Linked DNA regions of Homo sapiens: region 1 is linked to region 2. The links are contacts of gene promoters, found by promoter capture Hi-C in blood cells and fetal thymus (Javierre and others, 2016). All regions are on one chromosome and are shown on one strand. Each heading gives the region's core, a stretch centred on a gene start or on the middle of the fragment in contact. The rest is flanking DNA. Distances are from core to core; before and after follow the strand shown. Region 1 overlaps LOC105369777 (a long non-coding RNA gene). Region 2 holds the start of HOXC12 (homeobox C12).

Evidence for each region. Contacts are between HindIII fragments. The CHiCAGO score rates a contact against its expected background, and 5 or more counts as called.
Region 1: a fragment that was not itself captured here is called in contact with the fragment with the promoter of HOXC12 in region 2 in 2 of 17 cell types (naive B cells and total B cells); the score reaches 6.9 in naive B cells.

The regions. Positions count from the first base shown.
Region 1 is chr12:54,194,333-54,201,858 of GRCh38, forward strand. LOC105369777 (a long non-coding RNA gene) reads left to right here. Exons shown (of 3, transcript XR_944984.2): 3 at 6,128-7,526. Among named protein-coding and RNA genes, the nearest start is that of SMUG1, 9.1 kb to the left of the region's middle. The HindIII fragment of the contact is 6,102 bases long and covers 3,152-7,526 here.
Region 2 is chr12:53,953,527-53,960,442 of GRCh38, forward strand. It overlaps HOXC12 (homeobox C12), which reads left to right and starts at 1,377. Exons shown (of 2, transcript NM_173860.3): 1 at 1,377-2,013; 2 at 2,802-5,430. The coding sequence starts at 1,404. The coding sequence ends at 3,040. LOC105369775 (a long non-coding RNA gene) reads right to left here and starts at 2,901. Exons shown (of 3, transcript XR_944977.2): 1 at 2,816-2,901; 2 at 2,365-2,441; 3 at 1-753. The HindIII fragment of the contact is 3,202 bases long and covers 471-3,672 here.

The DNA of each region.
Region 1 (7,526 bases), core at 4,953-7,452, 250 kb after region 2:
TTGTTTCCTTTACTCCTCTCAGCAACACTTTGAGGGACATACTTTTTTTTTTCTTTTTTGAGACAGAGTTTTGCTCTGTCACCCAGGCTGGAGTGCAGTGGCACAATGTCGGCTCACTGCAACCTCCGCCTCCCAGGTTCAAGGGATTCTCCTGCCTCAGCCTCCTGAGTAGCTGGGATTACAGGCACCTGCCACCACGCCCGGCTAATTTTTATATTTTTAGAAGAGACAGGGTTTCACTATGTTGGCCAGGCTGGTCTTGAACTCCTGACCTCAGGTGATCTGCCTGCCTCAGCCTCCCAAAGTGCTGGGATTACAGGCGCAAGTAAGCCACCATGCCCAGCCTTTTTTTTTTGAGACAAAGTCTCACTGTGTTGCCCAGGCTGGAGGGAAGTGGCACAATCTTAGCTCACTGCAACCTTCACCTCCCAGACTCAAGCAATCCTCCCACCTCAGCCTCCCAAGTAGCTGGGACTACAGATGTGCACCACCACACCCTGCTAATTTTTAAATTTTTCTGTGGAGATGGGGGTCTCACTATATTGCCCAGGCTGGTCTCAAACTCCGGAGCTCAAGTGATCCTTCCACCTCAGCTTCCCAAAGTGCTGAAATTACAGGCATGAGCCACCATGTCCAGCTCAAGGATGTTCTGATAGCAGGTTGAAAAGAGCACTGAACTTTCAAGGACATTTGGAGCTGGGAGTCTGCCACTTGCCAGCAGTGTGACCTTAGGAAGCTCATGACCTCTGTGAACCTTGGGCTAATCATTTCGTTCTTCACCTGGAAGAGAGGATGACAATGCCTACTTCACGGGACACATGATGCATCCTTGTCTTATCTGCTCTGAGTCTATCAGATAAGCTGTGGGGATATGTCTGTTCTCTCCACCTTTCTACCTTACTGTTGAGCCTCTGCCTCTTTGACCCCCATTAATTCAGGCATGTAGCCCAGGAGTCCTACCACTCTGCTCCCTCACTGTCACTCACTGTCACTCAAGCATGTTGATTTTCCTGATGTTTCACCCTTTTCCAAGAAGTCCAGAGGACCAGCCCACGTTGGCCCCACCACTCCCTTAACAAGATTTGAGTTCTCCCTCTGAAAATATGAATAATAAAGAAACGAGGCACTAGGCCTAGAACTGAATGCAAATTGGCCCCAGTGCTCAATCCAAGAAAGAGAATGCTTGAGCTGTGGACCCAGAGAAATCCTATGCTTATTTGCATGTCATTTGCATTATATTTACATGTGATCAATTTCATGTTCAAATGCACAATCCTCCCTCCCCAGTTTTCCTCCCCTAGAATCCTCTCAGCCTCTGCCCCCATCATTCCCCACAGCCCCTGACCCTCCTCTCCTAGCCCCTGCCACAACCTTCCTCATCCTTCTCTTTCTTTCTGCCAGTCCCCAGCCCCTGGCTCCCCTGCTCTACAGGCAAGGACCCACTTGCCCAACACCCAGAATAGCGTCCTGGGGTCTCACCCCTTAGTTCAGGAGGGACATCCCTGCTTGCCCCCTCCCACCCTGAGCTGAGCAGGCGCAGCAGACAGCAAGCGCGCCTCTCAGCAAATCCCAGCCCCATTCAGCCTGGTGATTAATGGCGCTGCCCTCCCCATGAACCTGCCTTTAATACTGAGGAAGTTATGAAACCGCTATACATCAGCAGCTCCGGCCCCACTGCCCCCGCCCGCGTCCTCCTCCCCTCTAACCCCCACCCTCCAGCTCCCTCTTCAAAATCTCATCTGGGCTCCTGTCTCCTGGGCCCACCCCTCCTCTGGCCTTTGCTGGGGGGAGGAGGGTGTCTGTCCCTGCTGCCATCCCTGGTAAGGACCACATCTCATTTTCCCTTCCTCTCTCCCCCCTGCTCCGCCCTCTCTCCCTCCCCCCAACCCACGGCTGCATCTCCGGACCCATTTAGAATTGCTGACATTTTATCTGCATTACATACATCACTCCGTCCCCAGCAGCCATCTCTCATGGATTATCGGGGGGCGAGGGCGGGGTGGTCCTCAGCTTGGGGAAGTGACAGAGAAACAGGGTGGAGGTGCGGAGATAGATAGCACTTCCTCCACACGCTTTTTCCCTCAGGGCCCAATCCCCAGCCACCTGAGAGGCTGTGCAGGTGGGAGCCTAGGATAGCTGATGGCAAGGGTTGTACCCTAGCCGCCTCCTGCCAGTCACTGCTATCTCATAACATCAAAAGCCTTTTTCTCAGACCACACAGACTAAGGAAGGTCATGTTGCGTGTCTTCCTGCCATGGGACTCCTCCTCAGGACATTATGAAAGGGGTTGTTTAACGTCTTAGCAGGCCTTCTCTAATATTTTCCACACTGCCCTTTTAGGAAGTCTCTCTGAATGTCTAACCACTGTGCTCCATGCTGCAGCCATTATTGTCTTCTTGCTTTGTCCTTAGAAGGTTGAAGAGCAATATTGTTCCTCAAATGCGTTAAACCCTTTGTTAGGATGCCTGAGCAACCATAAATACAGTCACTTTTCCACACTCCTGAGGCTCATAAACATGATAGGAGGCAGAAAGTAGGGCCACCTTAGAAAGGAGGAAATTGAGACCCAAAATCAGGAGAAGGAAAAGCAAGAACCTGTCCAAGATCAGGAGGCAAGGACACAGGGGCCCCACGATCCCAGTGGGCAGTTTGCTCTCCATAGATAGTGGACAGGCAGAGGGCAATGACAGACGGAGAATTCTGGACCAACAGATAGACAGCAGAAGGGAAAGAAAGGGGCAACCAGGAGGGAGACAGGCAAACAGACAAACAAACAAAGAGCTAGACAGACAAAGGGACCGTCAGCCAGGGACAGGCAGACAGGCAAGAGAAAGCCGACAGAGGCGCTGGTACAGCATGTCCCAGGCTGGACACATGAGAAGGGCTCTCTCCGTCTGTCTCTGTCACTCAGGGTCTCTGCTGGAATGTGTCTCTCAGGGTCTCAGGCTCTTTTTGCTCACTGGGTTTGCATCTATCTACTTCCCTGGAAATCTCTGTTTTTCTTGGGCCTCTCAACAGACTGTCCCTTACCTTGTGGTCTCCCCTGTCTAAGACCCCATCCCAGTCACTCCCTCTGTCTCAGGTCATCTTTCTGACCTGCTCTTCACTCTCCCTGTCAGAGAAATTCAGACGCTTCCTGCGGGCTTTGGGAAGCTTCCACAGGAACCGAGCCAGTCCTCCCGGGATGAATGGGAGGGGCGAGGGCTCTAGCAGGGGAGGGGTGGGGAAGGAATAGCTCTTGGGCCTGGAGAAGGGAAAGAGCTGATAGGCCTGTGTCCCCAAAATCTAGCAGGCTTAGCCAGTAAGGCAAGAAGAGCCCGGGCAGGGAAGGTAAAGGGTACAGGACCCTCTGTCCTGTGGCTCAAACCCACACAAAACAGGCCTCAGGCAGTGGGTGCAGGGGTGTGAGTCACCTGCTGTTTGCATCTCATTTGCATGTTTCTGGCTCCCAGTTCAGTCTGGTCCCAAGAGGCTTGGGGGCAGGGAGGGGATCATGCACCAGAGTCCATGACTCTCACGTACCTCCTGACAGCACAAGGCGTGTTCCTGTCCTCTCCTACCTTAAAGCCAGCCTCAACCCCAAAAGTTGGCTGGACACATCATCCTCCAGACATGCCCTGCACTGTCCTGTCTCCAACTTTTGTCATGGTCCCCCGAGTCTTCCCCACTCCTCTCAATTTCGCTCAACATTAGCCATTTTTTTTTTTTTTTTTTTTTTGAGACGGAGTTCCACTCTTGTCGCCCAGGCTGGAGTGCAATGGTATGATCTCGGCTCACTACATCCTCTGCCTCCTGGTTTCAAGCAATTCTCTGCCTCAGCCTCCCGAGTAGCTGGGATTACAGGCACCCACCACCACGCCCTGCTAATTTTTTGTATTTTTAGTAGAGATGGGGTTTCACCATCTTGGCCAGACTGATCTTGAACTCCTGACCTCGTGATCCACTTGCCTCGGCCTCCCAAAGTGCTGGGATTACAGGCGTGAGCCGCCGCGCCTGGCCTAGCCATCTTTTTCTTTTTTGTTTTTTTTGAGGTGGAGTCTCGCTCTGTTGCCCAGGCTGGAGTGCAGTGATGCAATCTTGACTCACTGCAAGCTCCGCCTCCTGAGTTCACACCATTCTCCTGTCTCAGCCTCCCCAGTAGCTGGGACTACAGGCGCCCGCCACCACGCCTCGCTAACTTTTTTTTTTTTTTTTTTTTTGTATTTTTAGTACAGATGGGTTTTCACTGTGTTAGCCAGGATGGTCTCGATCTCCTGATCTCGTGATCCGCCCACCTCGGCCTCCCAAAGTGCTGGGATTTCAGGCATGAGCCACTGCGCCCGGCCGCAGACTAGCCATCATTTAAAGCCAGATACCAAGTCCTCCACTTCCATGAAGGCTTCTCTGATCACACAAACCCCAAGTGATCATAATCCTACAGCTCTCAATGCTGAAAGGCACCTAAAGAAATCAGGTCTGTCTTACCCATCTTCAGGAGATAAGGCTTCACCATCCCCGTTTTATAGATGAGGCAACCGAGGCCCAGGATCAGTTAATGTAGGTTTCCCAGAGCAGAATAGCCAGCAAGTAGGGAGGAGATGAAGGCCCAGGGCACACCTCTCCACACCCCCAGCTCCCACTGCCCCTTGTCATTCATTTAGCAGGGAGCAATGCCCTGTTCTGCACCACTCTCGCATGGCTAGTGAGCTGACCATTGGGCATCGTTGCTCCCCTTCTGGGTTGGGATTTCAGTCTCCCATGACTCCCTCGGCTTCAGCCATACAGAACTACTGCCGGTTCCCTAAATTCTCCTTGCCCTTTCTTAGCAACATGTCTTTGCCTGTGGTAATCCCTCTGACAGGACTGCCTTTTTCTCCACCCACTGCTGAACCTGGCAAACTCCAGCTCATCCCTTAAAACCCATCTCAACCATCACCTCCTCTGTGAAGCCTTTTCTGATGTTCTTCGTCAGATCCCAGCAACCTATTCAAACGTCTGAGGCAGCACTTGTCACACTGCTGCTGACACCGCAGCCTCCCTCCCTAGCCACAAGTCCTTCAAGGGCAAGGACCACCATGTGCTATTCAGCTGTCTCCCCAGGATACACACAAATACAGGCACACATTTAATTGAACCAGATTTTATTATCAACTTCCTTCCCATCCCAGGCCCACAGAACAGAAGCATCAGCCTAGTGGGGAGATCAGAAAGAAAGACTGAGAAGAAAACAACTCAGGAGATGATCGGGGGTACAGCACGTGCATTAGTGCTCTTGATCATCTCTTTCACCTAACTTAATGCTTAGTAAAAGAAGGAAGGGGCTGGGTGCGGTTGCTCACGCCTGTAATCCCAGCACTTTGGGAGGCCAAGGCGGGCGGATCACGAGGTCAGGAGATCGAGACCATCCTGGCTAACATGGTGGAACCCCGTCACTACTAAAAATACAAAAAATTAGCTGGGCGTGGTGGTGGGCGCCTGTAGTCCCAGCTACTCAGGAGGCTGAGGCAGGAGAATCGCTTGAACCCAGGAGGCAGAGGTTGCAGTGAGCTGAGATCATACCACTGCACTCCAGCCTGGGCAACAGAGCGAGACTCCGTCTCATAAAAAATAAAGAAGGAAGGAAGGGAGGAAGAGAGGAAAGTAAAGGAACAGAGGAAATAGGAAATAGAGCTGAAGGAGAAAGGGGAAGAAAGAAGGAAGGGAGAATAAAAAAAAAAAGTAAGAAAAGAGGTGGATGCAGGGTAGAAAGTAGAGCCAGAGAAGGGCCTTGTGGGAAGAGGGAGGGGAGGAAACAGGAGGAGCCAGGGGAGCGGGAGGCCAAACTTTTGACTCTGGAGCATGTCCAGCAGAGATCCTGGCCTTGAGCCTTAGTATCATTCCTGCCACCATGTTCCAATCTGGGAAATGGACACATCTCCCCTTCTCCAGGAACAAAGGAGTCTGGGCGGGAGCACCTGCTGTGCTGTGCTCCCCCCCCCCCAGAGGCCCTTTCACATCTGCCGTCTCCCAAAGCTCACCACAGCCCTGGGAAGTAGGATTTCTTATTCCACCCTTCCCTTCTGATGCGGGGATTGAGACAGAGCGGTCCGCCATGCGGCTCCAACAGGTAAGGTCTGACTCCAAAGGCCTGCTCTTCCCTTGACCCCAGGGTCCCCTCAGCATTGAAGACAGAAGAGGCAAATGACATTTCATGTCCCACTTGGAAAGTCAAGGTGCAGAAAACAGAGGGGACCAGACTCCTTCATATCCTGCGCAGCGTCATCTCCTGCCGCAAGAAGCACCCCACCTGCCGCAAGAAGCACTCCACCCGCATGACTCAGTCTTTGCCCAGTAGGTTGATGATAACCTAAGAAGCTGAAGACCTCACAGGGGCTCTGAAAGCCAACTGAAGTAGATGCAGCAAACTGTTCCATCATGTCATCCTTCCCTCTGCCTTGGGTCACCAGCCAAGGGAGGGAGTGGCTCAGGTGTTTTCCTTTCCACCCCTTTGTAAGCCCCCACGCAGATCTCCTCCCCATCCCAGAAGCCCAAGGAGCCAGCAATATCTGTGGTTCCCTGAGGTTCGGAGAGACACAGTAGCAAATAACTGTACCCAGGCCCCACTCCCCACTTCCAGGGATGTATAGCTTCGGGGTGTGGAGCACAGAGGACTTTTCCCAGAGCCTCACCCCAGATGAACAGCCAACTTCCCTTTGTTCAGCCTTCCTCAGATACTCAAACCCAGCAGCCCATGGCCTTCTCTGTCAGGAAGTCCTTCCTGATGTCTAACTTACATCTTTCCTGCTGCTGTCTATCCAGCCCTTAGCAGTGACAGGAGAGCAGTCTGAGCTCTAATGATCAGGGAATGGGGACAAGAACAAGTACTTCCCTTCAAGCCTTGGGTAGGGGAGTAGTAAGCAAAGAAAGAAGAGTGGCTCACTCAGCCTCATCTCTCCCGGCCTGTAGCAGTAGAAATGGAGGGTAGACAACTGGAAGGACTTCCTAGCCAAGCAAAGGGAGGTACTTCTGGAATAGGATTATAAAGTGCAAAGGCTGCGCCCTTTCTGATGGCCTCCCAGCCTGGCAGAGACCCTTCAGTGGCAGCTTCAGAAGGATAACCGGCACTTCCAGAAAAGCTCAGGGTGCTGGGATTACTGGGAACCCTTGCAGCTCCAGCAAAAAGAAAAACCTGGTCCTGGAGCCCCCTTGTGGCCGTGCAGAGGCAGGACAGGCAGTTCCACCTCCCACCACCACACCCGTGCTTAGAGCTGGGGCCCAGGGTTGCTGATGCAGAGGACAGGGAACCCAGGGCCCCACCTTCTGTGAGAGGCCAAATCGGCAGCCCCAGCCCCGAGGGCACCTGATCAGGAAGGAGTAGGGCCCAGAAGGAGCACTGGAAGAGGACACAGGCTAACCCCATTCTGTTCCTAATCTGCCGCTCTCCATCTGGTGACCCTGGGCACACCTCCCCACAGAGCCTCAGTGACCTCATTCATTAAAAGGAAGAAAAAGCCGGGCACGGTGGCTCACACCTGTAATCCCAGCACTTTGGGAGGCCGAGGCGGGCG
Region 2 (6,916 bases), core at 127-2,626:
TTATCCAACCCTGTATTACTTAAGCCATGCATTGGTTAGAAGCTCGAAATAATCACATGGAAATTCGAGTGTTTTTTCTATTAGACCCCAAAAGGATACATCTGGTTTGGGGGAGTTTTATTTTGTCTTTCTTTTTAATCCGCTTGGCTGTGTTCTGTGGACCTAGTTGAGATCGGATTGTGGTTTTGCAGATGTTGATTATCTCACCAATGGCCAGCATTGCTTCTCGGCCTTCTCTGGAGGGAGCTTCTGAGTTTGCACCATAAATATAATTTCACCCCCCAATAAGATAATTCTTCAAGGGTTTTTTCCCTCAATCCTAGCCCCCTCAGGAGGCAACCTACTGCGGGCCTCTGCACTGCTATCTGATGGTCCCAGGGGCAGGCTTGGCCGGTTCTGGGGTGCAGTTGTCTCCTCCGCAGTGAGAATTAGGCCCCTCTCAGCCCAGTCAAGCCCTGTTAGGGGTCCAAAGCTTCCCACTGCAAAGACTCCAGGAGGCCCCCAGAAGCTCCTCAGTTCCCCGGAAATGACAGCAGAAGAGTAGTTCGCCCCCAGATTTTCAGGAGCAGGCAGGCAGGTCCATGTGGAGCTAGGCACCTCCTTTTGCTGCATTCTCTACCTCCCTTCCGCATCCTTCCTCTAGCCGTGAGTGGAGGTGTGAGGCTGGGTGGCTCCCGGCTCCAGAGGAAAACCCGGCATTATCAATTATCCTTGAGTATTGGGGAAGAGGACTCCAAATGTCTCTCCAAATTCCTGAGGATAAAGAGCTGATAAAGAAGTGTGCAGCAGCAGCTGGGGCGGGAAGAGATAACGGCAGGGAAACCTGTCCTTACCCCCACTTCGCCTCTACTGTAAATAAACCCCGAGCCAAAGGGCTCATCCGTCTCCTTAAACAGTCAGTAAACTTTATATGACACAATATCTAATAGTAATTTATTGAGGAGATATTGTAAATTCCAACGGTTTTAGTTAATAAAGAAGCTAATTAAAGAGGGACAGGCTGTGCTTGGCCAGCTGTTGGCGATAAGATAATATATGGGGGGGGGTGCAGGTTATAGGGGTGTATATATGCGGGCATTTTTTGGTGTGTGTTTTTTCCCTTTTGCCCCGTGTTGGGCAATTGCTTTACTCTCTGCGTTAGGTTATATACATTGTTTTAGAAAATCAGTTCAGCAAATAAACCTGCCCCCGCCCTTTGTTACCCCACTCACCCCCAGGATTGGGGAAGGGGGAAGTTAGAGTGCGGGATGGGATGGTGGGGGGGGGGGATCGGTTGTCCCCACCCCTCCCCCTGGCGGCCGTGCCCACGTGAGTGGGGCGGCCAATGGGTGACTGGTGCAGATTTAACTATGTTTAATGTCAGATAGCAATAAAGTAGAAGCTGCCGGTCGGGCCCCGCGGAAATGGGCGAGCATAATCTCCTGAATCCCGGGTTTGTGGGGCCGCTGGTAAACATCCACACGGGAGACACCTTCTACTTCCCCAACTTCCGCGCGTCCGGGGCGCAGCTTCCCGGGCTGCCTTCGCTGTCCTACCCACGCCGCGACAACGTGTGCTCCCTGTCCTGGCCGTCGGCGGAGCCGTGCAATGGCTACCCGCAGCCCTACCTCGGCAGCCCAGTGTCTCTCAACCCTCCCTTCGGCCGCACGTGCGAGCTGGCGCGCGTGGAGGACGGCAAGGGTTACTACCGCGAGCCGTGCGCCGAGGGTGGCGGCGGGGGCCTGAAGCGTGAGGAGCGCGGGCGCGACCCGGGAGCCGGGCCCGGGGCAGCGCTGCTCCCGCTGGAGCCGTCGGGGCCGCCTGCGCTCGGCTTCAAGTACGACTACGCGGCGGGCGGCGGCGGTGGCGACGGCGGCGGCGGCGCAGGACCTCCGCACGACCCGCCCTCCTGCCAGTCGCTGGAATCCGACTCCAGTTCGTCCCTGCTCAACGAGGGCAACAAGGGCGCCGGCGCAGGCGACCCCGGCAGCTTGGTATCGCCGTTGAACCCCGGCGGCGGGCTCTCGGCCAGCGGTAAGGACCCCGGCCACTCAAGCGGCGGATTCAAACCCGACCTCTTACCAGGGCGGGCAGAACAGGACTGAGCTAGGGACGCCCAGGGTGACAGAATGTGTGGCGAGGAAGAGCTTCTTATAAAATGAAGTGCGGGTGGGGGGAGCCTATAAACATGTAAACATCCCCACAAAAGAAATGGAGAGTGTTCCTTTTTCGTCTGCCTGCGGCTGGAGGCGGCAGGGATTCCGGAGTTGGGGGATCCTGACGGGGACTCCCCAGGCCTGGGGGTGAGGAGGTGGGGACAGAAAGCCCGGCCCTAGTTCTCCCAGGCGCCTCTCCCTCCACCTTCCCACAGACCCCATTACTTACATTTCGAAAGAAATGCCAGTGGATGCGTTTACTCTGCCATTCGCCCATATCTGTTGTAACTGATCCGGGATCCAGTCCTGAAGGATGTGAGAGGAAGGGACCAGGAAATAGGGAAGAAGAAAATTGGGGAGAGGTTTGGGAAAAAAGGAGGGGATAGGGACTTAGAAGGGTCATGAATAGTGCAGCAGGAGGTAGGGTTGAGGAGGTAAGAGCAAAGAATGAAAGGAAAAAAAAGAGTAAAGAAAGTGGGGGAGTTGGTGGGGATGTGGGTCTGGGTAGAAAAGACGATTCAGATGACTGGCGGCAAGGAGAAGGGAGAGAAAGGGCCTGGAGTCCAGCTGTGAGGCGAAGGTGAAAGGGTCTGGGGAAGGGCCAAGGGCACTGGACTGGTCACCCTTTGATCCTTTGGCCAACCCCTGCCATTCATCTCCACCCAGGCGCGCCCTGGTACCCGATCAACAGCCGCTCTCGGAAGAAGCGCAAGCCCTATTCGAAGTTGCAACTGGCAGAGCTGGAGGGCGAGTTTCTGGTCAACGAGTTCATCACACGCCAGCGCCGGAGGGAACTCTCAGACCGCTTGAATCTTAGTGACCAGCAGGTCAAGATCTGGTTTCAGAACCGGAGAATGAAAAAGAAAAGACTTCTGTTGAGGGAGCAAGCTCTCTCCTTCTTTTAAGGTGCAGGACACGGGCGCCAGCCCCAGACTGAGCCTGTCCCTGGCAGAGAGCAAAAGAGGGCGCCGCCTAGAACACAGTCCCCACTTAGAACGCCAGGCGTCTCTGGCAGGCCCTCCCTGGATATCCTCTTGTCTGTTTTGTTCGTGGTTCCCTCCCATACACACCCAAAACACCCTGCCAGGTCCCAGAGAGAAGGGAAGAAACCTAGCCAGGGAGAGCAGAAGCCGGCAGCTGCCTGCGGTTGGCAGGGGCAGGAAGGCTGAGGTGCTGCGGGCTGGTTTATTTGAGGCAGGACTGGGGCACTGCACCTCCGCTGAGGATCTGGAGAAGCAGCGGCCCAGATGTCCCCTTCCTCTACTTCCCTTCCATGGTCTTAATTCTCTTTGCCGTCAGGAGCAAAGAGCAGGGCCAGTGGAACCAAGGCACCTCAACCTCACAGTTCCTGGGGTTAGAAGAGGCTGGGAAGAGAGAGGAGGGTGGAGGGTCAGCGGAGAGAGCTGAGGGAGTCAGGTGTCTCTGGTAGGGCTGGAGGAAGTGGGGAACCAAGGAGGAAGTGTGGTTTGTGAGAAAATGATTAGCAAGAACCAGAGTCTGCTTGGGTCTGGGTCCCCCAGGACACCCAGTGGGCAGAAGCTTGGGCATTTGGCTGGCCGGGCTGTGGACAAGGACTATCAGCCTCATGTTCCCTCTAGGACCAGAACAGTGTCCTGGTCCCCAGCCCTCTCCTGATCCCGCTGCCCGCACCGGGCGAATGTCTGTTCATAGGTGTGCTGCCATCCACTCCTCCGTTGCCTGCGGTGGCTGCAGGCCTGATGCAGCAAGCAGGGACCTGAGAGCCCAGGGGACACAGCCTCAGGTTCAGTAGCCACCCCAGAGGTCCCCAGCTGGCTCTCCAGAAAGAAAGTGCAAGAGGCTGTAGATGGGGCTACGGAGCACCACACTGATTGGCCGGGAGAATTTCTGACAGCCACAGCCGAGGCCTCTGATTCTCCCTTCCCCGCTGGCGTTCACGGTCACTGCCTCACGGGCCGGCCAGAGGGTGGACCAGCGTAATTTACGAGGCGGGAGGAGAATTCACCCTTAAAGGGGCTACCAGCCATTGAGGTCCCACTCAGCCCCAGTTTCCCAGGCCCGTGAGAATGAAGGAGGGGGGCGCTCCAGCCCCCCACCCAACTCCCTTCTCTCTTCCTCGCCCGCCCCCCAACATTGCCCTTTGTCTTCAGAAGGGCTGCCTCCGCCTCCTGGCCTGCAAACCTCCACAGCCTAGCACATGGACCAGAGCAGAGGGAGGGGCACAGCCCTAGAACCCATTGGAGGTCTGAGAATGGCTTCTCTGAGTGGGAAGGACTTTCATCCAGACTCCTTCAGACCCCAGCCCCAGCCCAGTAGACGCTGGGCTGGCTTGGAAGAGAGGAGCAGTGAGAGAACCATCAACCTTTCTGTACTTCATTTTTATCCTTCTCCCCAAGAGTCCCCCAGCCTCCCATCTGCTGTCCGGCCCTTTCCAGGAGCAAGAGGGGTGAGAAGCAGGGCACTGATGGGAGTTAACTGCAGCCTGGACAGTGTGAAACTGGCCTGCTGGCTTGGAGTGTTTCCCATATGGGGAGAGTCTCCCCTAACAAACTCTCCAAAGGCAATCCACCGAGCTTTTTACTCTCCCACCAGCACACAGCTTCTGTACAGGCAGAGGCAAAGGCAAACACATACACACAGCTGAGCCCAGCACAGCACTGGGCCCACCCCACTCTCCCTAGTGCACTCGCAAGCAGGCAGCCTCATAATCCCCACATGGCCCAGCAGAATGGAGATAAAATCACATGCCTCCATCCCCCGCTGGGTATCTGACACCTGACAATTCCCCATCCACACATACTTGCTTCACCCATGTACAAGTTCCCCCAAATTACCACCATTCCAGCTGTCTGCAGTCTCCTGTGGTCTTCCCCTGGGCATGAAGCACTCCCCACCTTGACTGGTCACCCACTGTACCCCCTTTATGCAGCCCTTCCTGTGACCTCTGGGCTCTAGGGTGCTGGATTTGAGCTCTACCACTCCAGACTAACCTGATTCCCAATCTAATAATGAAGAGGGACCAGAACACTCTAAAAGGAGTGAGGGGACAAAGATATGCAATATTCTCTTTCCATTTGCTTTAAACTTGACTTCTGTGAGGTTCTCTGTCAATCTGTGTCTTGTTCTCTGTGTCTGTCGCTGGTACCTAGTGTAGTCCCTGTGGATAGTTGCCCTTCCCCTAGCTGCCTCCCCAGCTCTCTGTAGTGTAATTCTCCTATTCCAACGTCTGTCTTTAGCACGTTTTCCCTTTATATAGTCCTTGTACAGAGTTGCTTCATCATATTAATATTGATAATAATAATAATTAAAACATGAATTATGATTATGTGATTTTTTGAAAACAAAAGTTCTACCCCAAAATAATGGGAGTCCCAGCCTCTTAGCTGTTCTCCACTTTATTTTCTCCAGCTCAGGTGAATAATAAAAATAATAAATGTGTAATAATAATGAAGGAAGAGTGGTTGCAGGGGCAACAAAAATACATAAGCAACCAAGATCTGTTGATGAGCTACCATCTCCAGTCCCAAGCAATTATAGCAGAGAGAAAATTGGGGGGTGGCAGACTTGGGGGAGGAGAGGGAGCTTTGAGAAGTCATGGGGCCATAAAAATAATGTGGACAGCCTAAAGGAGGTTGAAACCAGCTTCAGAAAAGGAGGTCTGTGCTTCAGGAACTTGACAAATAGAAGCCAGGATAGGGGCACTGGTGAGCTGAGCTGGATACTGGGGCAGTAAGAGTAACCCATAATCCCGGGGCTGAGATGGAGGGGGGTTGGTGGGCCTAGAGCTTCAACCGTGTGGTCTTAATCCTATGGCTTCACTCTGAGATGACGCTTGTGTATTGCAAGATGTTGAGAAGGGGCTAAAGACCCCTTGGAACTGGCAAAATAGGCTCCACCTTTTGAAGCCAGCGACTCCCTCTAGCCCATGCCAGAGGAAAGCCCAGGCCCAGGCCAGTGGTAGAGTCCAGATGTGCCCATGAACCCTCTGCACCTCCACCTACCCCTTCCTTTGGTAAGACATGCCCTCTCTCTTTCTTACCCTTTTGCCTCTTCCCTCCCCTCTCTCCAGTTACCTTTTCTAACTGTAAAGCTCCTATCAAAGGAGTCTCCTCCAAATTCCTCTTCCACCCTCCTGTACCAGAATCCTAGGGGCCCCCACCAAGTCCAGACTCTGAGCCACACCTCCTGCCCTGAAATCTCTCTTTCCTTCCCCTTTTTTATTCCTATAATTAGATAAACTAGCGAATTTAGATCAAATACCATTCTCTTTTTTACCCCTAATCCCCAGTTGCTTTGCGAAGCTGAGGAGTACGGACAGGAAGGAGACCCAAAGCCTTAGGTTGCTCATATAAATGCCCCACAGAGTGCAGCATCGACCGAAGACGGGCAGCTTGGGCAGCCATGAGCTGGGGGAGGGGCCTGGTGTTTGAGCCTGGGTCTGAATAGAGGAGGGTAGGAGGAGTCAGAATACCAGGAAATCAAGGCAAAAGAATATCTGACTCTTATGACGTGTCTACACAGGAAGGGTCAACAATAGGGACATCTCTGGCAAAAGAAAAAGGAGGACTTAGGAAGGCCGCAAATAACTGGCCTTTAATTTATTCCCAGAGATACTCCCAATTTGAGAGAGAAGGCACCTAGTTGGGTGGTGTCTCTGCAGGTCCAGAGACTCAACGCAAACACTGGGGATGTTGCCAGAGAAGGATGTTGCCTCCTTCCTATGACTGAAAAACAAATCGTTGGGTCTCCCGGCCAAAGAGGAGGTCACGGTTGGAACCGCGATCCCAATACTTAGGTCGCAG